Regions from separate parts of the Homo sapiens genome. Here region 2 is linked to region 1. The links are contacts of gene promoters, found by promoter capture Hi-C in human tissues and cell types (Jung and others, 2019). All regions are on one chromosome and are shown on one strand. Each heading gives the region's core, a stretch centred on a gene start or on the middle of the fragment in contact. The rest is flanking DNA. Distances are from core to core; before and after follow the strand shown. Region 1 holds the start of C1QL3 (complement C1q like 3). Region 2 has its middle 86 kb from the start of MINDY3.

Region 1 (7,572 bases), core at 3,348-5,847:
GATTATGAATTTGACATGTCATTGATCTCTCTAATAAGCGAATACCAACCCACAAACCACTCATCCTTTTAAAAATATTTCATGGGCATCGGTGCCATAACTAATAAATTTTTAAGAGTACCAACTGGTCTTTAATTATTTTATGCTTTTAATCCTGAAACAGTATTAGTTTTCATTCGAGTGGCTTATTTATTATAGTGGCATTAGAGTGATTGTATTCAAATAGCAATTTTTCTTCATGTTTTCTGCTAAAAGGATTATCAACATTAAAGAGATTTCCTCTTTCCAAATGTAAAGCTATTTGAGTTGAACTTTTACCTTTAATATGCACTGTCATGGGCTTTCAACAAATGGTAGGATTAAATTTAGGTTGATGGCTTCATGGGGAGTATGAGAGCTGCGGTCATTTTAGGGATATGTTTCTGTGTCTGCAATAGGTTTCATAGTTTTAGCATTATCTTATTAGTGAGGATCTATCATTAGAGATCATATTTATGGTGACATTTGTAATTTAATTAATTGCTACTGATGTTCTCGTAATTTCATTTTCATTGTACTTCTGTGGAATCATAAACAAAAGGTTAAGTGGCACATCAGGTTAATTTACTGGTCTTTGATGTTTCCATCTGTGATCTTACATTCTACACAAAGTATAAATAAAATGGCTCTCATATGGTTACAGTCCAGAAGCATTTCTCTCTCTTAGAGGGAACTGCATTTTTAGTTTAATTTTTGTGCTTCTCAAAATCCACTTAATCCATAGAACATTACACTGACATGGATCTCTGAGTTTCTGTTTTATGAAAAATTAAGTCAGCTCAGAGAGGGAACCTGCCATTCTAAGAAGTGATCAGACCAGAATATAATTGAAAAGCAAGAGTGAAGTATTATTTAAAATTAATAAAAAGATTTTAAAAGATTTCTCATTTGTAACTGCCTGCAGACTGGACTTGACAAAATAGTTCTAATCTAGAGATAAAATTCCTTAACTGTAGTAGTGTAGTAACCATTTTCCAAAATAGTCCACACTGAACTAAAAAAAAATGTTTACCACTATAGATTTATTTTTCTGAATTACCTGTTGCATACCTTTTGCAGAAGTAGCAGCTTAATATTACCAATGAAAAGACTTATACATTATAAGGTCAGCTGTTTTACCTTACTATTTTTCCTGATCCTCATGGAATGTGTGTGCTAGTGTGATACAAAGGAAGATTTTACACCCCAAACAGTGAAATAATTTTAAAAACAAAACGCACATAGAACACCTACATGGTGTTATTTTCTTCAAATCAGTGTAATATACACAGGCTCAGCAGTCTAGACATCAACATTTAAACTAATTTAAATGTATTAATCCCTTCTTTTTTCATGCAATTGCAATTTCCAGATATTTAAAGATGTGAGCATTTTTACACATTTGCTGATAAAATTGGAATCATTTCATTTTAATTGATACCTCTAAAAATCATCTCTTCAGCCCGATTGTATTTTCCAGACCTGACCTTTGAGTCAGAAGAGAGCCAATTTGCAAATAAAGGGGTGTCTCATGGCTGCCTGCTGAGGGACTGTTCATAAGCCTTTTTGTGAGGGTGATTCAATAGCTCCATTCTGGTACAGTGAGTCCTGCCCGTTTTAGCCATTTGCCTATAACTGTTTTACTGTTCTGTGAATAATTTTTATTTATCTTAATATTATTTTCATGCATAATAACTATAATAAACAACCCTGTCAGTGCCTCCTGGTGGCCATTTTTCCTCTTTTTGTTATATGTGTCCTGAGGGTCCCTTAAGCTATTTGTAGGATAGGGTAGAGAATAGGACGTTTTTTGTCTTTTTTCTCTCTTACGCATTTAGGACTTTTTTTTTTTTTTTTTTGGTCTTTCACTTTTGAAAGAATTCTGACACTGAAGTAGGTCTTCCGAATCCTGCTTGAATGGTGCTTAACAGAAACCTGGGTTATAGCTAAGAATCTCTGAATGTCCAGGGGTCGAGTTACCTAAAGCCCAATAGACCTCGTTAAGTCAAAGTTGCTGCAGGAGAGGAGGTCTCTTGATGGCGATGCCAGGGTCGCGGGCCATCCCCTATGCCACTCAATAAGCAAAGTTAAAACCGAGAAACTCAGCCCACACCGCAGGCTGCAGGCTGCAAGGCCTCGCCTCAGTGGCTACTGATTCAGCGTGCACAGAAGGTCCCATTACACTTTTAGGTAGTTACAAATATTATTTTCCTCCTTTGACTAAGAGATCAAACAAGCTTCGGTTTTGCAATGACCTCGAATTTCTCCACAGTAAAGTGGCCCCAGCAGAATACTGCAGACCCATGCGTAGCCCTTGTAGCGGCGCCGACCGGCTCAGGGAATCAAATCCTCTTGGCCGGCTGGTCCAGAGGCCGATAGACCCGGGGCTGGGCTCGAACCGGTCGCCCCCCAGGCCACCTGCCTGAGCGTCCTCCGACTCCATAGAGAGTTTGGGTTCTGAGTCTGGCTGCGCGCTGTGTTTCACCGCATGAACCCCCGAATCTCAACTATTCTTTTTGTTATCAGCACTCCTTGCCTCTCCCCTCCGCTATTTTTTGGCTGAAGACGAAACTGGAGTTTGCGCCTTGAAATTGACTATATGTGAGTTTCACGGCCTGGGACACCGCAAGGACTCGGCGACGGCGAGCCCCACGGTCGCTCCTCCGCTGTGGCTGAGCCCTGCTTGGACTCATTCCTTCGGGGCCCTTGTTTCTCCCTCCGGCCTTTGTCTACCACCCCCGAGTCGGTCACCCTGCCACGCCCATTCCGGACTCCCCCAGGCCTCTCCACTCCCCAGAAAGCCCGTAAGCTACCCTCTGTTGCGGAGGATCCCACGGCCAGGGGTCGCTTCCCGCGCCGGGACTCCCCAGCGCACGAGCTGTCCCCGGGACCCAGCTCCCGGCTTCCCGCCCCTCGAGGGTCGCGCTCGCAGGGGCGCGCACCGATCGAGGGTCCCAGACTCCGGAACTGCCCTCTCCAGGCCGCGGGGCGCCCTCCTGCGCGCACGACCCCCGCCTCTCCAGGGTGGGACGGCGTCCCCCCTTGCCGTCGCTCCAGGGAGCCCGGCCGCCGCGCCCTTCCTCCGCGGGCTCCCACCCCCATTTCCGGGGTCTCCTCCCTCTCGCCCGCACCTTCCCGCGCTCCCTCCCCGCCCTCCCCGCCGCCCGCCCGCGCTCACCTGGTTGTTTTTGCAGAGATCAGCCCACATGCTGGTGCCGTCCCCTCCGCGCATCAGGACGTGGTAGGTGAAGAAGTAGATGCCCGGGATGGAGCAGGTGAACTTGCCGGTGGTGGGGTCGTAGTGGTTTCCGAGGTTGGTGACCACGTCGTCGAACTTGAGCACCTCGTAGCCTTCATGCTGCCGCTTGAGGCCGGCGTAGAAGGCGATCTTGGGCACCGTGCTGTAGGTGGCGGCGCTGATGGCCCCGGCCGCGTTCAGGCCGGGCGCCCCGGGCGGGCCCGGCAGGCCTTGGCGGCCCGGCTCGCCCTTCTCGCCCGGGGGCCCCATGGGGCCGGGTGGCCCGGGCTCTCCGGGGGGCCCGCGCGGACCCGCCTTCCCGGGCCTGCCGGCCTCGCCTTTGGGGCCCTGGATGAAGGTGGGCAGGGACTGCATGAGGCCGCGGTCGGGCGTGGCAGCGGTGCTGGGCGCCTTGGTGCCCCCGTAGGGGTCGCAGACCATGCGGCAGGTGCCCAGCATCTCGTAGTGCGCCGACGTGCCGGCCGAGCTCACCAGCACCGGGATGAGGATCACCAGCAGCAGCACCATCACCACCCCCAGCGCCCCGGCGGCGATCAGGCGCCTCCTGCTGCCCACCAGCCGGCTCAGCGCGGGGCGATCCTCTTGTCTGCTTTTGGACAGAATTTTGAAGGTTGGGCGGGGACCTCTTCAGAGCCGAAAACAACCCCCTGCGAACCCCAACTCCCCTGGGCGTGCGTGCGCCGGCCGCTGCTGCCGACTCCTGCTCCCCCCGCGGAGGCTGCGGCTGGGGAGGGAGCGCGGGCGCCCAGTGACTTGAGCCGAAGTCCCGAGCCCGGGGTGGGGGCCGGGGGAGGGGTGCGCGGGGCGCCCTCGCCCCCCGCGAGCTCCTTCGCACCTGTGGCTGCAGCCGGCGCCGGCGCGGCCACCGGGAGGGCAGAGCCAGCCGCCGCCTCCTGAGCTCGCCCGGGCAGCTCACACTTTTATGCCGCCGCCGCCTGCGATCGACTTTTCCGTTTTTGCAGACTGCGCCTGTTCGCACCAACTTTCCGTCTGAAGTTGCCTTTTTCTGCCTCCTCCTCCTCTTCTTTCGCTCGCTCAGTTCGCCCGTCCGCTGCCTTTTTTTTTTATTGCCTCCTTTCTCTCTTCCTCCTTTGCCACCACCACAACTCGAATAGACGCGCACCCCAAAGCCCCGCGTGGGCCCGGGCGTCCCCCGGGTGCGCCCAGCGGCGGCGGCGGCGGGCACGGTCGGCACGGCGAGGCTCAGAGCTGGGGCGGAGGAGCGAGCGAGCAGCGGCGAGCGCCTCACGGCCGGGAGCGGAGCGAGAGAGAGACTGAAGGCAGAATTCTGCCTGGGTACCACCTGCCAGGAGAAGAGGAGGCTGACAAACGCGCGCCGGAGCAATTTATAGGCACCCAAGGCACAGAGGAAGGGGAGCCGCTTTGGCATCTCATTGCAGCATCTGCTCTGCTCATCCCACTCAGAGAGAGTTTGGCATTACTCTGACAATGTGGGATTTTTTTTTTTTTTTCGGCCTCTCTTTTTTTCTCTCTCTGCACATGGATGAACAGTGAGATTCTGAATACTCCCTTGCTGAACCAAGCGATGGCAGGTCCTGCTGGACCCACCTGGGGAAGGGAGACAGCTGTGCGACAGCTTTCAGAGCTCAAGGGTCACACCTAAATCCCCGATTTCCCCACTGCCAGCAGCCCCAGTTGGAGGGTGGAGGTGAAGGTTGAAAGGAGGGTGGCTGAGTTGACAGTTTCTTTGCTAGCTCCTCTACAATCAGTGCTTCAGGTGTTTTCAAAATGCCACTGTTAACAGAAGGAGGGCCTTTTAGAATTTTCCAGATGGTAGATGTGATTTTCTTTTAACCTGATGGTTTTCCTCCTCTGCCTTGTAAATGAATAAGATGTTGCCCCAAGAACAGTGAGGTATGTTGAAAAGCCAAAGAACATTTGTGAATGATTTTAAATGAACATGTCCACCGCCTCTGGGGGAGGAGGGGGTTGGTCCTTTTTACAAATGCTGCACCGTGGTGAGTGCATACATACGTACTGTGCTTACAGTCTTACAGTTCTAGCAGTCTTTCGGGGGATACCGCCAATGGCCCTGAAGTTGCGTTTACTTAAAGTCGCTAAATGTACAAGAAATAACCACTTGTCAAAATGGCGTCAAAAGATCAAGCAAGAAGCTTTTGCACAAGTGCTGGGCAAGGTCTTTTCCTAGCATATGGAAAGAGTTCTATAAGCTCCATAGCAGATTTCCCGAATATACATTGAGGGAGGGGAGAAGTAGGAGAAATACAAGAAAGAAGAGCCCCCATTCTCAGTGGGTGAGCTGCAGAAGGAACAGCATGGTTTATCATATTACTGGAAGGCCTCCAGGGTAGATATCAGGCAAGTTACCCCACCAACAAATACATAAGACACACAAGAATGGCTTTAAATAAATAAGTAGAATTGAATCCTAAATCATACTTTTGCATTCAGGAGCAACAGATGTCAATCAAACGTGGGTGACATTTGCTTGTCAATACGAGGATGATGGCTGGGAAGACGGTGACTTATTACATCAGGGTGAGAATCTGAAATGAGAAAAGCAGGAACAAATAAGACTACAGCAAGCAAACAGTAACATCCTGGGTGACGATCAGCAGCCTGTGATCTTGTCTGCGGGTGTCACAGCATGGACTTCTCCTTTCCTCCCTGTGCCTCAATCTCCCCGCCCCCCAGCCTACTCCAGTCCACCCCACCAATTTAGTTCTTTCTTTCTTTCTTTCTTCTCTGTTTCAAAACAAAATAAGGTCAAACGAGCAGACAGAAGGAAACAAAGACTGAATGATTCTTTTAAGAGAAATGTCAGTAGCTCCTTCAGGCCTTGGCTGGGAGAATCAACCCTAAAAGCTGTGCTGTGTGGCTCAGCGGGGTGGGGGTCTCCACCTCCTGGCTACTGAGAGAGCCACACTGCTCCTGGTATTGGAAAATAGGGCTTCCCACTTCTCAAGCCCTTAACTTTTATTTTAGGGTAGTGGTTTTATAAATGCGCGCCTATTGCTTGGGCATAATTATACACATAGTTCCATAATATTTTTGTTCACATGAGCTGCCTTATTTTCATATTTTTAAGGAGCAAACACATAATAAGTTGTCTCCTGGCCATAATACTTACTTTCCTAACACACCTTCTGGATTGCTTCTTAAAAGTCACCTTCCTTTTGGAGGACAAAATGGTGAGGTTTGCTGCCAGCACTGGGGGGGTAGGATATTAATAAAACTCTGATGCACCAGATTATCAAATTTCATAAGGCCTCTCTATTGCTATGAAGAGTTCTGTAGGTGACACAAAAGGAGTTTTTAAAAGGTAGAGATGTATAGAGAAGTTCTCATCAAAACCTCAAGCTATGTGGAGTTTTCCCATTGACTAACGCTTAAGATATATTGGAGTCAAATGCTCATAAAATGCTCATCAATGCTTATAAAATATTAAGAGTTGAAATGGACTCTCTGTTCATGCAGATGATGAGACCGAAACAGAGAGCTTCCAGGAGGATCAATGCCATTCAATGAGCTTGCTGCTGTACTCCCCTCTACACAATATGGATATATCCCATCCCAGCCCGAGACTGGCCATACTAGTTCTAGTAACTGAGGCTTTCCTCCTACTTTCTCTGACGCCAAAGCAAATTTGATTTTGCAAGTGAGTGCCCTCACATTTTAAAGCTCTGCTGAGATTTAGAAAGGCACTCAGCAGTCATCATTCATCATGAAGTCACTCCCTCCCAGGCCACGTGGCTGACCCCAGACTTTCTATTAACTGCACAAGCCTGGGCAACACATGGATATTTGGCTCTGTAGTGAAGCAAATTTAAATTCTTGGTCTCCTTCCTCTCCTCCAGAAGTATCTCACTGTGCACTTTGGGGGAACCTTTTGGTTCCCCCACAATTTTCAAGGATGACTTGGTAGTAAACGAACTTATGGCTGGTTACTGAGACTTTCTACTGCTTGAATTTCCCAGAAGGTTCTCTGCAAAGTTACTCACGCTTCAGCTCTTGTTCTGACAGTTTGGATAAACCATCTGATATGGCATATTACTCATCATCTTCATATATATAATAATAGAAAACGTGTCAATTAAAAAAATATTTGATTTTCTTCAGTCCTCATTAGAGAACCAAGTTTTCTCTCATATTCGATAAGAATCTTGGAAGTGGGCCCTGGACTCTCATTTCTGCAGCATCTCCCAACCATCTCTCAAGAAAACACCAGGCTCCCTACTCCCATTGCACCTGTACCTGGACCTTGTGGACCCTCCAGAAGATGAAGTCCAATCCAGAAAGCCGTGATCATGGTT
Region 2 (6,832 bases), core at 3,271-5,770, 570 kb before region 1:
TTGAACTTTAAAAGTTAAATAAAATAAATAAAACTGAAAATAAGAATTCCTCTGTAGCTCTTCCCCTTTGACCTCCTCAAAACGAGCAGCTCTGAAATATAAGCCATGTAGCAAGAGTCAACATTCTTTTGATAATATTTTTTGGGCAGTGAGAACTTTTTAAGAGGTTGCTTTCTATGTCATTTAAATGAGGGAAGAGCCAGCAAGCACAACTGAAGATTTTAAGCTGCCAAAATTACTCCCTGATTTGTTTCCCATATTCCACATTTATTTTATTAAGTCAATGTAGCCTGTGATTTTTTCCTAACACTATGTAGTTGAATGTACAAGCCCAGCCTTTATTATGTACAGGTGGGAAATTATTTTCTTGGCCTGAGATGGAGCCCTAATTTCATCTCTGCAGAGTAACTGAAGAAATGTGTTGAGTGTTGTTAGATGCCCTAGCTGTAGCAAAACTCCTTGCCAATACCAACACACTTGGCAGACGAACTGACTCTGGAGACCTTGGATGCTTTGACCCAAGCTGAGGCTTCAGCGACAAATCGGGAAGTCGAGGGAACACAGAAGGTATCTAAGGAGCTTCAATCAGTATTTCCAAGAGAAAATACCCTGTTAGTTTTTACTGTTGCATAGCGCATCGTCACAAATTCAGCAGCTTAAAACAACACACATCTATGATCTCAGAGTTTCTGTGGGGCAGGTGTTTGGACACAGTGGAGGTGGGCTCTCTGCTCAGGGTCTCATAAGGTTGCCATCCAGACAGCACTGAAAGGGCTGCATGGCTGGGCAACGCAGAAGACTTGAAAACACTTCCCAGCATGGTGTCGGTGCAGTGAAATGATATTTCTGTGCTGGAGCTGGCTTGGCACAGCACAGCAGCTCCTGGAGTTTTCTGCCTCCAGTCTGACTTGGGAAAGACATGTTGATTCCTGAGGGCACTAAACTGTTACAGGAAGCCAGATCCAGAGGGTTTTGTTAGCGAGATGCAGGAACAACACAGAAGTAACTTGCGTGGATGGAGAGATTTTGTTGGTATCATTTTTTTCCCCCAAGAAAGCCTCATTCATACTTATAGTCCCTGAGATCTTGAATAATTGAAATTGTTTATTTTTAACAGCTTTATTGAGATACAATTCATATACCATACAATTCACACATTTAACATAGATGGTTAATTGGATTTAAGTAATTCAGAATTCTGTAACCATCTCCACAATCAGTTTTAGAGCATTTTCATCACCCCCAAAAGATACAGAACACTCCAAGCTGTCACCCCCTCAATCCCTCCAGCACCCCAGCCCTAGGAAATCACTTATCTACATTTTGTTTCTATAGATTTGCCTATCCCTGATATTTTGTATATATGGAAGCATATAATCTGTGGCTCCTTTCAGCATTACTTAGCATAATGCTTTCAACATTCATACATGCTGTAGCATGAATCAGCATCTTGTTTATATTTATTGTCTAATTATATTCCATTGTCTGGATAGACATTTCATTCATCCATTCATCATTTGATGCGCATTTGAACTGTTGCAATATTTTGATTATAATAATGCTGCCTTGAACATTCATGTACATGTTTCTGTGTGGACATACGTTTTACTTTCCTTGAGTATATTCCTAGGAGTGGCATTGCTGAGTCATATGGAAACTCTATGTAGACAGAGAATCTCTTGAAATACCAGGCTGTTTTCCAAAGAGATTGCACCATCTTTGCATTCCTATCAAGTGTATGAAGGTTCTGACTTTAACGTACTCTGCCCAACAATCATTCTCTCTCTCTCTTTTAATTATAATCATCCTAGTAGATGTGAGGTGGGATCTCACTGTGGGTTTGATTTAAATGTCTCTGACGGCTAATGATGTTGAGCATATTTTCATGAGCTTAGTGGCCATTCGTATATCTTTTTTTTTGGAGAAATGTCTACTCAGATCCTTTGCATGCTTTTTTGTGTTTACCATTTAAATTAGTTTTATTTATTAATACTTCCAATTATTATTCAGTTAAAAACAAGGCACATGAAATACATCCTCTTATTGCTCTATGAATGCATGCAGTTCATTGTGTAGATCATAAAGAATAAATTATGCAAACACCACCTTCTCTTCACTCTGTTGATTGTTTCTTTTGCTGTGTAGAATCCTTTTAGTTTAATTAAGTGCTATTTGTTTATTTCTGGTTTTGTTGCCCATGCTTTTGAGGTCTTGGGCATAAATATCTTTGCCTAGATCAGTGTCTCAAAGAGTCTTCTCTATGTTTTCTTTTAGTAGTTTTATAGTTTCAGGTCTTACAGTTAAGTCTTTAATCCATCTCAAGTTGATTTTTGTATACGGTGGGCAGTAGGGGTCATTCTTCTGCATATGGTTATCCAATTTCCCCAGCACAATTTATTGAATAGTGTGTCCTTCCTCAGTGTATGTTCTTGACAGCTTTGTTGAAGATCAATTGGCTATAAATATGTAGATTTCTTTTTCTATTGTTTTTAAATGTGCATGGCATCTTGGCTTGGTATTAAATTTGTGCATCATGCCTTATTTAAGGATTTTGTACATGTTTCTTTCATATGAAACACGTGTGAAATTTTTCTCTCAATCTTACCTTTTCTGGTATTTTGCAATGTTGAACACAGTTCATTCTTATTTCCCAATGTCTTTCTGGAGGAAAAAGAATTTCTCTTCAGGGCAATACCATTTCTAATAAAAGACTTTTCCAAGCAAGATACATGTGATATTGAAAGTTTATGACTATACAACATTTTCCTCACTTAAAATTATACCGTCTGATAGCTACTCTTCAGAGTTGTGGGTTAGTGTTGTGGCTATTTCCTATTTCTATTGAAGTTAGAATTTTATTTGCTGTTCTTATTATTGTTTGCACGTTGGATTCACAGAGAAGAATGATGTAGAAATGCTTTTAATGCACCATCTTATATTTTGACTAAAAATTATTGAGAAGAAGCTGACAGAGCTTCAACATAACTGTTAAAGTTGAAGAACTGAGTGAATATGTATTGCATATAAACCATATGACAGGTATTGTCCTATAGTTGTCTTAGTTAACCTATCAGAGACTGGTATTAATATCCACATTTTTGGCCAGGCGCGGTGGCTCATGCCTGTAATCCCAGCACTTTGGGAGGCCGAGGTGGGTGGATCACCTGAGGTCAGGAGTTTGAGACCAGTCTGACCAACATGATGAAACCCCGTCTCTTCTAAAACTACAAAAATTAGCCAGCTGTGGTGGCAGGCACCTGTAATCCCAGCTACTCACGAGGCTGAGGCAGGAGAATTGCTTGAACATGGGAGGTGGAGGTTGCAATGAGCTGAGATCTCAACATTGTACACCAGCCTGAGTGACAGAGTGAGACTCCATCTCAAAAAAAAAAAAAAAAAATCCACATTTTTACAGATGAGTAAACTGTGGTGCTGACTGAGAGGAAAAGTGTAGAAAAGAACAGAGAGACTCCTCCTACAAGACCAAAAATTATCTGCATATAGAAATGGGATGGATATTTCTGGAACTGATAGGAGACGGATGATCTGAAAGGAAAGAAAAGATTGGAGGAGCTTAGGCAGAGATCCTGGCGTGGAGAAGCCAGAACTCTATAAAGATGCCTAGGAGAGGAGAGAGTTGGTGCAGACATTTGAGGAGAGGAAGATATGCTCAAAGAGCATTTGGGGAAGAAATTGTACCATGTGTTGTATAGTGTAATTCATGTTTCATTGTCTTCAGTGTTCAGTGAAACATACATTGCTTTTCATGACTTTTTGAATGCATCTGTGTTTCAGATTTGACACTGAGATAAATCTGTCATTGAGTGATCCAATTTTTTTTCTTTTAATTTTTATTTTAGGGTCTAGGTACATGTGATGGTTTGTTTTATGGGTAAACTTGTGTCACAGGGATTTGATGTACAGATTAATTGGTCATCCAGGTACTAAGCATAGTACCGAATGGTTATTTTTTCTAATGCTCTTCTCCCTCTTCTTACCTTCCACCCTCAAGTAGACCCCAGTGTGTGTTTTTCCCGTTTCTGTGTCCAAGTGTTCTCATCATTTAGCTCCCACTTGTAAGTGAGAAGATGTGGTATTTGGTTTTCTGTCCCTGTGTTAGTTTGCTAAGGATAATGGCCTCCAGCTCCATCTATGTCCCTGCAAAGGACATGCTCTCATTCTTTTTTAAGGCTGCATAGTATTCTGTGGTGTATATGTACTACATTTTCTTAATCCAGTCTACTGATGGACATTTAGATTCATGTCTTTGCTATAGTGAATAGTGCTACAATGCACACATAAGCATGCATGTGTCTTTATGACAGAAAAATTTATATACCTTTGGGCATATACCCAATAATGGGATTGCTGGGTTGAATAGTTATTCTGTTTTGAGCTCTGTGAGGAATTGCCACACTGCTTTCCACGCTGGCTGAACTAATGCATGCTCCCACCAGCAGTGTATACATGTTCCCTTTCCTCCGCAGCCTTGCCAACATGTGTTATTTTTTGATTTTTTAAAAATGGCCATTCTGACTGGTGTGAGATGGTATCTTACTGTGGTTTTGACTTGTATTTCTCTAATGACTAATAATGTTGAGTATTATTTCATATGCTTGCTGGCCACATATATGTCTCCTTTTGAAAAGGTCATGTGAGTGGGCCAAATTTTTAAAATCTGGGTTATGGTATCAATGTCTACCTTAAAAAATAATGATTGTTTTTGTATTTCCCAGAGGTTCCGTGATTTCTTTAAGACAGGAGAAAGGCTTTAATATACCTCCCACAATACTTAACTTTTCCTATAGGCACTCTTTGAAATGTAAGCGTTAATATTTACAATAACGTTAAGAAGGGCCAAAAATTGGCCAGGCGCGGTGGCTCACGCCTGTAATCCCAGCACTTTGGGAGGCCGAGGCGGGCGGATCACGAGGTCAGGAGATCGAGACCATCCCGGCTAAAACGGTGAAACCCTGTCTCTACTAAAAATACAAAAAATTAGCCGGGTGTAGTGGCGGGCGCCTGTAGTCCCAGCTACTTGGGAGGCTGAGGCAGGAGAATGGCGTGAACCCGGGAGGCGGAGCTTGCAGTGAGCCGAGATCCCGCCACTGCACTCCAGCCTGGGCGACAGAGCGAGACTCCGTCTCAAAAAAAAAAAAAAAAAAAAAAAAGAAGGGCCAAAAATTTAGTTAGCACAGATTTAAGCTTGCTAATAAATTCAAGAGAAACCCATAATTTAATCTAGTATTGAGTTGTAAAAATAAAAGTTTTAAATTCTCCACATTAAAAAATCATCTTCTAATTAATATTTTAGTGTGCCTTTTAAGTGACTGTTTTTCTGACAAAGTAATACGTTTATTGCAGAAAATCTGGGTAACACAAAAATGTGTAAAAAAGAAAATTAAAATCACCCATAATCTTGTCATCCAGTAAGTATGTTGTGGCCTATTGTTTCACACATGTGTGTGTGTATATGTATATATATATATGTGTATATATATATCTATTTTTCTGTATGTGTGTACATTGTTTTAAAAATCTCTTTTTAATCTCCACATTTCAAGTATACTTCTAGAGCATGATTTTAAATGTTTTCATAGCTATAGTTACTTTTAGATAATTTCAGATAATTCTTTATAATTTCTCGTTCATTTAATCAATTTCTTATTTTATAAATAATAATGAAATGAATATCCTTGAATGTATACATTTCCCTCTAGCTCAATTTATTTCATTAGGATAACTTCTTAGAAGAGTAATCTTTGGGAAAAATGTTAACAATTTTTCAATAACCAAATTTTTATGTGAAGGGTGATAGGTACACATTTTTTAAAAAACCAAAGAGTGCAAAAAATAGAGAAAACCTAAGTTTTTTTCTTTATATCTTCCAAACTCCTGGCCACCTTTCCTAATCCCAAAATCAAACTCCATTACTCCATTTGTGCATGCATAAAATTTGCACCTCCCTCTCTCTTACAAGTCCTTTTACAGAGGTAGATTACGCATGTACTCCGTTCTACAGTTTAATACTTTCCAATGTATCCTGGAGTATACTCATTATCAGCACGTGCAAACATACTGCCTTTAAAGAATAGATCACGGTGTTCTATTATATATACTACAATTCCTTTGACCTGTTTACTTCTATATGAATTCCTTACCATCCTCCCAGTCTTTTGCTATTCTGAAGATACTACAAGGAATGGTCTTCACCGTAGTTTTTGTGAATAGGACCAACTATATATGAATGTTCTTTAGTATAATTTTGGATACAGACACATGCATCTATCCATATCTGCATCCTCACCTCCTCTCTTTGCTTTCATGCTTAGAAACTGTAATAAACATTTGTCATTTCTTAGCTTCTGTGTCCATTTCCACTTCACACAGCATCCCAGCTTTCTTCCGGAAAAGTTTTTCGCCAGGTGCTGTGCAGCCTTAATGTGATAATACATTCAAGTGTCAGCACTCACATAACAGGATCCAAACATGTCCTTGGAGATTCTTCTGTTAGATTCTTCCTCTAACGGACTGAGTTCTGCCATGAGAAAGCATATATATGATCTCCACTTGACTAGTCAGATTCCTGGGACTTTTAAATCTTGAGCTGTGGACACTAGAAACAAAACTCAATGTTTAGAGTTCTTTCAGACTTCTCAAGTGGAGTCTGGGTAGGACTGCCAAACAGTGTCTTCTTGGGAGACCTTTTGTCATGACCTGATCTTGTCTGCCTCTACCTGGTCCTTCGGCCCTTCCTTCCAACCAGAGAAACTCCCAGAGACTCTTCTTCTGAAAACTTCTCTTCTTCCCTTTCCTTGAGTTAGCCAGATTC

The links. Contacts are between HindIII fragments. The study calls those that stand out against the background at their distance.
Region 2: a fragment that was not itself captured here is called in contact with the fragment with the promoter of C1QL3 in region 1 in 2 of the 25 tissues and cell types used here (aorta and mesendoderm cells).

The regions. Positions count from the first base shown.
Region 1 is chr10:16,517,282-16,524,853 of GRCh38, forward strand. It overlaps C1QL3 (complement C1q like 3), which reads right to left and starts at 4,598. Exons shown (of 2, transcript NM_001010908.2): 1 at 3,197-4,598. The coding sequence starts at 3,784. It also overlaps a transcript of PTER not described here. RefSeq lists enhancers at 2,148-2,648, 2,649-3,149 and silencers at 3,449-3,508, 3,819-4,038, 4,309-4,538. The HindIII fragment of the contact is 8,174 bases long and covers 143-7,572 here.
Region 2 is chr10:15,943,312-15,950,143 of GRCh38, forward strand. No RefSeq gene overlaps it. Among named protein-coding and RNA genes, the nearest start is that of MINDY3, 86 kb to the left of the region's middle. The HindIII fragment of the contact is 5,608 bases long and covers 1,717-6,832 here.